Linked DNA regions of Homo sapiens: region 1 is linked to region 2. Evidence: promoter capture Hi-C in 16 types of primary human blood cells and fetal thymus (Javierre and others, 2016). All regions are on one chromosome and are shown on one strand. The core of a region is centred on a gene start or on the middle of the fragment in contact, and the rest is flanking DNA. Distances in the headings are between cores, read along the strand shown. Region 1 overlaps UBASH3B (ubiquitin associated and SH3 domain containing B). Region 2 holds the start of HSPA8 (heat shock protein family A (Hsp70) member 8).

Evidence for each region. Contacts are between HindIII fragments. The CHiCAGO score rates a contact against its expected background, and 5 or more counts as called.
Region 1: a contact is called between a fragment that was not itself captured here and the fragment with the promoter of HSPA8 in region 2, in 1 of 17 cell types (neutrophils). The highest score is 5.4, in neutrophils.

Annotation. Positions count from the first base shown.
Region 1 is chr11:122,661,774-122,667,978 of GRCh38, reverse strand. The region is part of intron 1 of UBASH3B (ubiquitin associated and SH3 domain containing B); the gene reads right to left. Among named protein-coding and RNA genes, the nearest start is that of UBASH3B, 9.2 kb to the right of the region's middle. The HindIII fragment of the contact is 7,294 bases long and covers 1,068-6,205 here.
Region 2 is chr11:123,060,498-123,066,569 of GRCh38, reverse strand. It overlaps HSPA8 (heat shock protein family A (Hsp70) member 8), which reads left to right and starts at 4,434. Exons shown (of 9, transcript NM_006597.6): 1 at 4,434-4,506; 2 at 5,241-5,450; 3 at 5,772-5,977. The coding sequence starts at 5,246. It overlaps LOC124902775 (a long non-coding RNA gene), which reads right to left and starts at 3,908. Exons shown (of 2, transcript XR_007062927.1): 1 at 3,039-3,908. RefSeq lists enhancers at 3,686-3,955, 4,516-4,685 and a silencer at 3,976-4,365. The HindIII fragment of the contact is 24,952 bases long and covers 1-5,906 here.

The DNA of each region.
Region 1 (6,205 bases), core at 3,465-5,964, 400 kb after region 2:
TCTCTAGGTGCCTGGACTCAGAGAAGTAGCCTGATATGGAAAAAAGAAACCATGGTCTCAACTGAGATCAGCAGGCCTAAGCTCTGGTTTCTATCACAGACTAGCCGTGTGGGATCTTGAAAATATCACTTCATTTTCTGGTCTCATTTTACTTAAGTGTAAAGAAAAAGGGTACTAGACTAGATGAGCCCTACTAGCAATTCCAGCTACAGATTTCTGAGCGTCTACCTCTGGAGGTTTCTTCCAAGCAGGATCTTACACCTGAGGCATAATATTAAATTATTTGAACTGTCTACTGGCCTTCCCAGAATTTTTCCTCTCCTCTCAAACTGAAGAGTATTGCTCCTGTCTTATTGGTGCTTCAGATGTAATCGTGTGCTCCCTGTCTGGTTTATGACCCTCACCCTCCCACACTGATGTGTCTTCCATCTTCTGTCTCTTGCCTCGCATTTACCACGCTTTATCATAATCGTGTATCTTCCACCCTAGATTGCCAGTTTCCTGAGGGTGGAGATTATAGCTAATTATCTTTATACTCTCAACTCCTGTTATAATAGGATATTATAGTTGCACATAAATGTGTGAAGTGTCTGTACAGTATATACATACATATACAGAGAGAGAGAAAGAATGGACTGGGCGCGGCGGCTCACATCTGTAATCCCAACACTTTGGGAGGCTGAGGCGGGTGATCACCTGAGGTCAGGAGTTTGAGACCAGCCTGGCCAACATGGCAAAACCCCGTCTCTACTACAAATACAAAAATTAGCCAGGTGTGGTGGTGGTGCGTGCCTGTAATCCCAGCTACTTAGGAAGCTGAGGCAGGAGAATCGCTTGAACCCAGGAGGCAAAGGTTGCAGTGAGCTGAGATCACAACATTGCACTCCAGCCTGGGTGACATAGTGAGACTCTTTCTCAAAAAAAAAAAAAAAAAAAAAAAAGAATGCCATTATCAGGGGATTTGTCATGGAGAAAGTGGCTGAGGACCCTGGGCAGATCACTGTGCATCTTCATAGGTGATTTGGGGTAATCCCCTTAGTCTGGCTTGCTTCACAGGGTGTGAAGCTTAATAAGACTTGTGGCAGAAGAGATGAGGAGAGTGAGAGAGGAGGGGAAGAGAAAGTGAAAAGAAGGGAAGAGGAGCCAGATGCATTACAGTGGAACTAGTTCTCCAGGATGGGTAAAATCTGATTAGGAAAAAAGAGGGGAAAAAAATGAGCAATCAGGCAATTCAAGGAAAAGTTGATTCAAAATGAAACTGCAGCTGGGCGCGGTGGCTCATGCCTGTAATCCCAGCACTTTGGGAGGCCGAGGCGGGTGGATCACAAGGTCAGGAGATCGAGACCAGCCTGGCAAACATGGTGAAACCCCGTCTCTACTAAAAATACAAAAATCAGCTGAGCATGGAGGCGCGCGCCTGTAATCCCAGCTACTCAGGAGGCTGAGGCAGGAGAATTGTTTGAACCCGGGAGGCAGAGGTTGCAGTGAGCCGAGATCGTGCCATTGCACTCCAGCCTGGGTGACAGGGCGAGACTCCGTCTCAAAACGAAAAACAAAACAAAAAACAAAAGAAAAAAAAAACAAAAACGAAACTGCAGATGCCATGGTTGAGAACTCCAGCGACCCTGCATCGTTCCACATGTCTGTGTCTAAATAGACTGTACACAAAAGCAGCCATGAGGCAGATTTCTTCCTAAGGTAAAGGAATAAACACTTAGGGAGCGAACGCTCTCTGTAAATGTTTTTGAAAGGCGCACCATCAACGTGGAAGCAGGATTCTAAACAATCCTGCTACCTGAATCACCAAGAAGGTTCACCCAACAAAACCTGAAAGAAATCGGGAGCATGCAGCTGCCTCTGGCCATCTGTGCAGTCGGCTTCCCCCTGGCATTTTCCAGACTGCCATGAGAGGCTACAGCGGTGGTTCTTTCAGCTTCCCACTCTGCACGAGAACAGCCTTGGTCCTGGTGGAGTTCACTGCCACAGTTGCTTTATGTACAAGAATGTTTATGCTTCCACAGAGGCCGGGAGCACAACGGGAAGTGTCACCCAAACAGCTGGTGACTCCACAGAAGGGAAGATGTCCCTTTAATTTAAAAGGTGCCCCTGAGCAATCTATTTGCCTCAGGTGCTGGGCTCAAGGCACTACCTTCCTCTTATTTAACCAGCACTTTGGTTGTATTTTGCAAGAAAACAAATTGTTTGTTTTTGTTTTGTACCAATTTGAGAATTATACTATTGCATACTAGTAAACGGCTCCCCACCACTGTAATTGCCTCATATCTTTCTTCCTTTCCGTTTATTTACTCTCTAAAATATCAAGTCCTGAAGAGTTTTCTTTAAAGGGAGAGGAGAAGAATTTGACCATAAAGCACTGTGAAAAACAAAACAAAAACAGGAACAGAAAAGCCAAATGCTCTGGAACAGAGAAGCACACCCATGAAGCAGTGAGAGCATCCTCGTGCTGTCCAAAAACACTGGTCCAGGCTGGGCGCAGGGGCTCATGCCTGTAATCCCAGCACTTGTGGGAGGCTGAGGCGAACGGATCACTTGAGCCCAGGAGTTTGAGACAAGCCTGGGCAATGTAGTGAGACCCCCATCTCTACAAAAATAAAAATAAAATAAATTTTAAAATTATCCAGGTGTGGTGGGGCACACCTGTAGTTCTCACTGTTCAGAAGGCTGAGGCAGGAGGATTACTGGAGCCCAAGTGTTCGAGGCTGCAATGAGCTAGGATCGTGTTATTGCACTGTAGCCTGGGAGACAGAGTGAAACACACACGAGCCGGGCGCAGTGGCTCACACCTGTAATCCCAGCAGGCCTCAAAAAGGCAGGCCTAGGTCAGGAGATGGAGACCATCCTGGCTAACACGGTGAAACCCCGTCTCTACTAAAAATACAAAAAAATTAGCTGGTATTGGCGGGCGCCTGTAGTCCCAGCTACTTGGGAGGCTGAGGCAGGAGAATGAAGTGAACCCGGGGGGCGGAGCTTGCAGTGAGCTGAGATTGCGCCACCGCACTCCAGCCTGGGCGACAGAGCGAGACTCCGTCTCAAAAAAAAGGCAGGCCTGCCCTCCGAGGGTCACTGTGGAGAACGTGCAGCCAGCTCAAAAGAGCAGTTGACTTCAGAGTGCCAGATGGGAAAAACCTGACATTTACCTTTTCCTCCGGAGAACTGCACAGAATTTAGCAGGGTGCTGCATGCACAGTAAGAGCTCAGACAGTTTCTGGATGTTCATCTAGGACACTTCACCATGGGCCTCACCGTCATAGATAGTAAGTGGCAAAGAGCATGACTGCAAAGTCACCAGGAAAACAGGGATGTGAGCAAGATGAAACAAGAAAAGGGATCACCTATCACATACCGAGGGCCCCGGGCAGAGGGTCCAGAGGACTGCGATCACTGCCACATCTACCCACCCATCCTCCAGGGAAAAGAGAAAAACCACAGATTCTCCATAAGCCTTTGGGCAAATAGAAAGTGGCCCCTGGGAGAATCCATCCATGAAAATGACAAAAGTGTTCAGTTCAATGAGGATCATAGTCATCTCATTCTTCTGGCAATGGCTCTGCATTCTGCTTGGCTGAGTCTGTCACCCTGCAGAGAGGATCCATTCTTGAGTGTGGTTTTTTCTCCCCACTCTCTCTCTTAGGCTTGAGTCTGATTCCATTTGAAAGTAATCAGAAGACAACCATATGGTACCCCTTCCAGTCCCCAGCCCCTGCCATTTATTATAGTCAGCAGCTTGGGTGGTGCTCTCTCTGCCCTGGGTCTGCTTTTTCTCAGGCCCCGCACCCCTCTGGGCACTCTAGAGAGAGAAGCACAGAGAGCAGAATGCAGTTATCAGGGAGAAAGCATCCACTGGCCTCTGCCCTATCTTACAGCCTTATACCCAAAGCTCAGTGAGGAACAGAGAACCATAAAAGTGGAAGGCGACCAAGGAACCAAACCACAGAGGGAGCCATGTGGAGTAACATCACCACTTGAGTAGCACTAATACCGACCTCATTTCTGAGGGTGTGCCCAATGCCAGGCGCTCTCCAGCTGTTTGCGTGGTTTGGCACCCTTCTCTCACAAAGGTCCTTCAAGACAAGTGCTGTTATTGTCTGCATTGTACAGACAGGAAAATTGAGGCTTAGCATGTTCAGCAACTTGCCCAAGGTCAGTCCCTCAGCTGGTAAGAGGCAGAGCTGGAATTCAAAGCCAGGCTGCCACAAGTTCAGACTTCTGTCTATCAGGGCAGGATGGATGGGGCAGATAATGATGGGGTCTCTTCAGCTTCTGGATGGCCAAGAAAGGAGATACCCTTACACAGGCTTATGCCGGCTGGGATTGGGGAGGCAGTGATAGTACCACCACATCATCATCAGCTGGAGCAAAGCTGGCGGGAGACACAGGATTCCCTAGGTTGGCTGCCTCTCTGAAAAGCAACGCCTTTAGCTCTGCGAATGACTGTCCACTCCCTGAAAGGGAGCTGGACTTTGAGGCAGCTGAGGGTGGGGAGCAGGTGGTGATCAAAGCCACAGGATAGAACAGTGAGGCAGGATACTCTTCAATCTCTGTAGTACTTAATCTTCCAAACCTCAGTTTCCTCATTAAATTATCAATGTCTGAGACTTAATAGTGATTATGTATGTGACTCTGCTTTGTAAGCTCGAACATGGTCTAAAAACTTAAGGTATTATTAGAAATTCTGGCGTAAGGCCAGGCGCGGTGGCTTATGCCTGTAATCCCAGCACTTTGGGAGACCAAAGCAGGCGGATTGCCTGAGCTCAGGAATTCGAGACTAGCCTGGGCAACATGGTGAAATCATGTCTCTATTAAAATACAAAAAATTAGCTGGGCATGGCGGCATGTGCCTGTAGTCCCAGTAACTCAGGAGGCTGAGGCAGGAGAATTGCTTGAACACGGGAGGCGGAGGTTGCAGTGAGCCGGGATTGTGCCACTGCACTCCAGCCTGGGAAACAGAGCGAGACTCCATCTCAAAAAAAAAAAAAAAAAAAAAAGACATTAGCGCGTAAGAGGGAATTTTCATAGAAGCTGTGTGCAAGGGGTTATAATTACCCTACTAGCACATCCAAATACCTGAAGGTCTACTCAGCAATTAAAAGAGATAAACTATTGATACATGCAGGATGAGTCTAAAAAATATGCTGAAGGAAAGAAGCCAAGTACAAGGGTATGCACTGTATGACCTACATGCAAATCTAGGAAATGCAAACTAATGTACAGTGAAAGAAAGCAACTGGGCTGGGCGTGGTGTCTCATGCCTGTAATCCCAGCACTTTGGGAGGCCGAGGCGGGCGGATCACCTGAGGTCAGGAGTTCGAGACCAGCCTGACCAACATGGAGAAACCCTGTCTCAACTAAAAATACAAAATTAGCCAGGCGTGATGGTGCATGCCTGTAATCCCAGCTACTTGGGAGGCTGAGGCAGGAGAATCACTTGAACCTGGGAGGCGGAGGTTGCATGCAGTGAGCTGAGATCGCAGCATTGCACTCCTGCCTGGGCAACAAGAGTGAAACTGTCTCAAAAAAAAAAAAAAGAAAAGAAAAGAAAAAGCGACTGGTGGCTGCTCAGGGTTGGGGGTTGAGAGAGGACTAACCACAAAGGGGTACAAACGAAACTTTTAGGGGCAGTGAACGTACTGTGTCTTGTAGCAGGTAATCACACAGGTACAGTTGTCAAAATGTATCAATCTTTAAATAGGGTTAGCTGATTGTACATGAGTTATAACTCAAAAAAGTTTTTTTAAAAAAAGCACATCGGCTGGCCGGGCAGGGTGGCTCCCACCTGTAATCCCAGCACTTTGGGAGGCCAAGGCGGGATGATCACTTGAGGTCAGGAGTTCGAGACCAGCCTGACCAACATGATAAAACTCTGTCCCTACTAAAAATACAAAATTAGCTGGGCATGATGGCACATACCTGTAGTCCTAGCTACTTGGGAGGCTAAGGCAGGAGAATCACTTGACACCTAGGAGGCAGAGGTTGCAGTGAGCTGAGATCACGCCATTGCACTCCAGCTTGGGCAACAAGAACGAAACTCTGTCTCAAAAAAAAAAAAAAAAAGAAAAAAAGCATATCAAGGTATTTTTTTTTTTGTTTTTTTTTTTTTTGGAACCAGGACCTCGTGTAGCCTGGAAAGTTCAGGAGACTTGCAGTTTAGCCTGAGGCTCTTATGGCAATGCAGTCCCTGCATACC
Region 2 (6,072 bases), core at 3,185-5,684:
ACAATCACGGCTCACTGCAGCCTCAACCTCCCAGGCTCAAACCATCTTCCCACCTCAGCCTCCCGAGTACCTGGGACTACAGGCACATGCCAACACGCCCAGCTAATTTTTGTATTTTTTGTAGAGATGGGGTCTCCTTATGTTGCCCAGGCTGGCCTTGAACTCCTGGGCTCAAGCCATCTACCAGCTTTGGCCTCCCAAAATGCTGGGATTACAGTGCCTGGCCAAGAGCGCATTTTATACCGCACCTCCTCTCCATAGTGCAGGGGCTAAACAAGATGACTAAGAGTTTGAAAGTAGAAAGCAACCTAGCCTGAGTTAGAAGCATAAGCTGTAGAATAAAATCTGATTTTGAAAAATTCAGGGTCAGCTAGAGATCTTAAGCAAATTATTTGACCTATTTGAACCTCAATTTCTTTACCTGAAAATGCGGACAATATGATCTGCCAAAAATAGTTGTGAGGGTCATGTAAGAGAATATATGTCAAATGCTTAGCATGGTGCCCTGCATAAAGCACTGAATAAAACATCAATGGCAAGGGCTCTACTACCAGAAATACAATAGGCATGAGAATGTTCTAAAGCGTATAATCTGGTTTAGGAAGGTAAAGCATAATGCAGGAAAAAGATATTGGGGCTATGTTTATGTATGCTGTTCTCCAGTTGCAATAATTTATACATGGCTGCAGTTAGAAATCAAAATATTAATAACAGCTTACATCATTCTGGTTTCAAATTTCCCTGATGCAATGCAGTACATACACTCCAGTATTTGGGCAATCAGGGCATACATATATTGCATCTTTTAGTCATGTCACCGGGTCACAGGAGGATTGTTTTTAATATCTGAGTTTTTAAAGCAAGGGACTGTAAGTTTACTATTCTTTAATACTAATTTTTTAAAAATGCATACTTAGTAACAGTACACCACATAATCCTAACACAAATTATCCAATTAAATTCTAAACCTTAAATTTTTTTCATTTTTTTTTGTTTTTTGAGACAGGGTTTTGCTCCGTCACTCAGGCTGGAGTGCAGGGGCACAACCATGGCTCACTGCATTCTCCACCTCTTGAGCTCAAGCGATCCTCCCATCTCATTTTTTCAGAGATGGGGGTCTCACTATTTTGCCTAGGCTGGTTGAGACTTTTCAACAGAAGCAACTGATACCACAAAACTATTAAATAATTTCTTCATAAACTGAGGCCAGCACGGCGGCTCACTCCTGTAATCCCAGCACTTTGGGAGGCCGAGGTGGGAAGATTACTTGAGGCCTGAGACCAGTCTGACCAACATGGTGAAACCCCGTCCCTACTAAAAATAACAAAAATTAGCGGGGCGTGGTGGTGGTGCGGGCCTCTAATCTCAGCTACTTGGGAGGCTGAGGCAGGAGAATTGCTTGAACCCAGGAGGCGGAGGTTGCAGTGAGCCAAGATCACAGCACTGCACTCCAGCCTGGATGACAGTTATAGACTCCACATAAAAAAAAAAAACAAAAAAAACAGGCCAGGCGTGGTAGCTCATGCCTGTAATCCCAGCACTTTGGGAGGCCGAGGCAGGCGGATTACCTGAGGACAGGAGTTTGAGACCAGCCTGGCCAATATGGTGAAACCCCGTCTACTAAAATAGAAAAATTAGCCGGGCGTGGTGGCATGCACCTGTAGTCTCAGCTACTCGCGAGGCTGAGGCAGGGGAATCACTTGAACCTGGGAGGCGGAGGTCGCAGTGAGCCAAGTTCCTGCCACTGCACTCCAGCCTGGGGGACAGAGCGAGACTCCATCTTTTCTGGGAGACTCCATTGGGAGACTGTCTTTTTTGGGAGACGGAGTCGTGCCTTAGTTTCCCCATTTACAAAATGACGATCATAATAGTTGCTACCGCTTAGATTTACGGTGAGAATTAAATGAGGTTAAGGCTGGCATGTGGTAGGCACACAAAAATGTTAAATCATTATCCTTTTATCCAGTCAGAAGTCCTAGGCTCTAGGCTCCACTGCAGTCCCATGCAACCAAACTTTAATTTTAGATCTTAACTGTGTCATTTGAAACCCTGTGCGTTTGAAGTGGTGGAGACAGGACCTTTATCATATTCTGAGCTTTAAATATATAAACGGTAAATCATTCCATTTAATAAGACATAGCCCAAGTCCCAGAACGCGTTTTGAGAGTAACCAGAAACAGAGGTTATTTGTTCTGCTTTCTTTTATCACTGCTATTGGATGGGATATCCCAAACAAGTGGATGTGCGCCCCAATTCTATTTTCCACTATTCAATGATTAAAATAATTACAAAAACGCAAAATACAGCACAGGGTGTAGTTTAAAATTTGTGCTTGTTAAACTCTAGGCACTGGGGTGTGAAAAGAAAGATTCCAGATAACATTACTAGCAGTTAGCGTGGGGGACTGGGGGTTCCAAATACCAAAGGAAACTGAAAACAGTGGCTCACAGTACATATCTTAACTCTTTCTGGAGTTGAGTTCAATTTATTTCCAGGAAGGAAATTACACTGTAGCGTAACTAACAAAAAACATAAAACAAATCTTGAACCAAAAAAAAGCTAGATTTGATTCTAGCTTACCCAGCTGCTTATCTTCCCACAAATGATTATCTCTGAGCTGCATTTTTCCCCTGATATGGGGATGAATAATACACACCTTAGAGAATTGTGTTGATGATTAAATGACAAATGAAAGCATTTTGTATGTAGTGAAAGCATTGTATAAAATTAAATTCTTGGGACGTGGGAGAGGCTAAGAATATATCTCCATGAACTCTAAGCCAACATTCCTCCCCAAAAGGAAAATATGAAAAGGAAATTCTTCATATGTTTGAGTCTGTCTCTACCCTTTACTGGCTTTGACAAGGACAAGATGTCCTCGCTCTTCTGACAGCCTTTTTCGCAGTCTAGAGACCTTCTAATTCCAGCCCTGCTACTAAAAGTTCTTTTGGTGTAGCCTTAAAAAATCTTTTCCCCCATCGGTGCCTATTTATCTACTAAATAGGAATAACAGCTACCTCGCCTGCTTGAAAGGATACAGGGAGTGTTCAAGGTACCTGAGACAGGCTCTTGGAACCACAAGGCCCCACATATCCGCGGCCATGCACAACATTGCACAATTCAAAATTCTAGGCACCATTGTTTTGTGCACCAGCTCAGTCACGTTTTCAAAGCGTCGGTATGGTCTGTCGTTTAATTTTTGATGAAAGTCAAACCAGGAAAGATATCACCTCATGTTACTGAAAATACAAACGTTCAGAAAGTCTAAATCAAGGACGCACGGCTACTGGAACCTATGATTCCTAATGCCTGGTTCACCTAACCAAGAACACACTCGCCACCATTTAAACCTGTTTATTTTATAAACAACGGGGAAATGTAGGGCTTGGGCTAGTTGGGGAAGGACTGAGCCAAGAAGCCGAATCTGTTCTAGACGGAGGTGGGAAGGGGCCTAACGGTCAGGGCTCAGAGAAGCGGTTTCGCCTTCTTTTCCGCGGAGGGATCCAGACACGACCGCGTCCTGAGGCGGTTCTGAAAAGCCGGGCCCCTTAAACCTCTGCGTCGGGGGCTGCCTCCCGACAGTTGCCGTAGGGAAATGCAGGTGCTGGGAGGCCTGCCGAGCTAACCCGCCCCACCCCGCGGCGGCCTGGCGGCTCCCTCCAATCCCAATCCTGGGGGGCCGTGAGCGAGCAGCCCTAGTGGCACCCTGAAGCCGGAACCTTCGCCCCAGCCCCTCGGGGTCAGCCCTTGTCCAAAGCCACGCTATGAAATACAGATTCGCGAAACCCGGGGCACTTAGAGGCCCGTCTGGAACACGAAGGTGGGGCATGGAAAGGAGGATTCGGACGTGGGTGGGGGAGGGGAGCAACAACCTTCGCAGCCATTTTGTCCTCGCTCCACTTCCGTCTTCTCCTGCCCGGCTCCCGCGCCCAAACCCCTCCCTTCAGGCCCCGCGCGATTCCGCCCCCAGTTCTGTGCCGGCCAAGATCCCGGCTAGCGCCGCTATCATTGGTTAGTTCCAAGTTTGCCCGCCCCTCTTCCTCCTCCTTTTTCCGCCCCCTCCCTCCCGCGGAAGCTGGGGGCGCATGCGTAGAGGTGGACGCTCCCCTCCCCCGCCCGGGGTAACTGAGGACTCCCGCGCGCGGACTCGCTGCGCCCCACCCTCCCTTTCCCCGGGGCCGTCCGGAGAGCGGGGGCGAGCTTGAAAGTTCCAGAACGCTGCGGTGAGTGCGTTATCGTGAGGCGGAGCGCGGTGGGGTGGGTGCGGAAGGGGGCGAGGCCCGAGGAGTGGAGCCGGGCTTGTGATTGGGTCTTGTAAGGGCAGCCGGGCGTCTATTGGCCGGGGAAGCCGTAATGGCAGGCAGCAGGGGCGGGCCCCTTCTGGAAGGTTCTAAGATAGGGTATAAGAGGCAGGGTGGCGGGCGGAAACCGGTCTCATTGAACTCGCCTGCAGCTCTTGGGTTTTTTGTGGCTTCCTTCGTTATTGGAGCCAGGCCTACACCCCAGGTAAAACCTCTGCTCAAGAGTTGGGTTGTGGGTCTGGGAGCGTGCAGCCTCCACACAGGCCTGTTGGGCTTGCTGAGGCTTGGGGGTTCTGAGAATCTCGTCGAGGCGAGTGTGCGGCTCCTTCTACCGGCTTAAAGGGCCTCAGTTTTCGGTGGGATGGCAGCGGTATTTGGTTGCAGCCGGCAGGACGGAAATGTAGGGAGTGGGCCGCAGTGGCCCCAGGGGAGGCTGGGAGACGCCCGGCGGCCGCGTGGCGGGGGAGGGTTGCTGCATCGGTTTGCCTGGCGCGCGGGGAAGTGGAGCCAGCGTTTTCTTTCACCCAGTTCCCTGCTTAGTCCAGTCCCACCGTGGTTCTTCAGAGCTGTTCTTGGCGTGCTTCCAGTATGGGGGTACATTCCGGAGTAGTTAAAAGCCCGTTGACTCCCGGGGGCACTGGCACCTGGCGAGGGAGGGGAACAGACAGTGCTCAGTTCGGGGTAAGACCACGTGTTGAGCAACGCCCCACGCCGTCTGGGTAGATGGGTCCTTCATCTAGGGCGTGCTCTGCTGCGGTTGGCACGGCAACCTGGACTGCAGCACTAGTTCTGGACCTCGCGCGTGCTTAGACAGGAGGTGATGGGCACTATTACCTCTTGGCAGTGGCCATACGTTTTTCCTGGTTAAGTGTTCTGTTAAGGGATGAGGGAAATATTTTGATTAATTGAATTTTTAAACCAGATTTTTCTTTTTTTCAGCAACCATGTCCAAGGGACCTGCAGTTGGTATTGATCTTGGCACCACCTACTCTTGTGTGGGTGTTTTCCAGCACGGAAAAGTCGAGATAATTGCCAATGATCAGGGAAACCGAACCACTCCAAGCTATGTCGCCTTTACGGACACTGAACGGTTGATCGGTGATGCCGCAAAGAATCAAGTTGCAATGAACCCCACCAACACAGTTTTTGGTGAGTTCCTAATTTTAAATGACAGAACAAATATAACAGGGCTAGGAAGCACAAAAGTTTATGAAACGTGAGGAGGGAACTTTTTGATTTTAGAAAAACTGAGCTGAGAGACTTGTTATCAAGTCTGTTATAAAACAGGTTGTAGAAACCTTTCAGGCTGAAATCTGGATAACGTAGGAGGTTGAAGTTTGAACCTTTGCTACCTATATGGTAGTTGAATTCACCTACCTATGAACTGTTAGGTATTTGAGTAATCATGGACTTGAGTTTTATCAGAAGAGCTATGAAATTGAAAGTGTTTTCATTTGACACCTTTTACAGATGCCAAACGTCTGATTGGACGCAGATTTGATGATGCTGTTGTCCAGTCTGATATGAAACATTGGCCCTTTATGGTGGTGAATGATGCTGGCAGGCCCAAGGTCCAAGTAGAATACAAGGGAGAGACCAAAAGCTTCTATCCAGAGGAGGTGTCTTCTATGGTTCTGACAAAGATGAAGGAAATTGCAGAAGCCTACCTTGGGAAGGTGAGGTTGGTTTTTCAGTATGGGGTGCATTCCGGAGTAGTTAAAAGCCCGATGACTCCCGGGGGCACTGGCACCTGGCGAGGGAGGGGAACAGA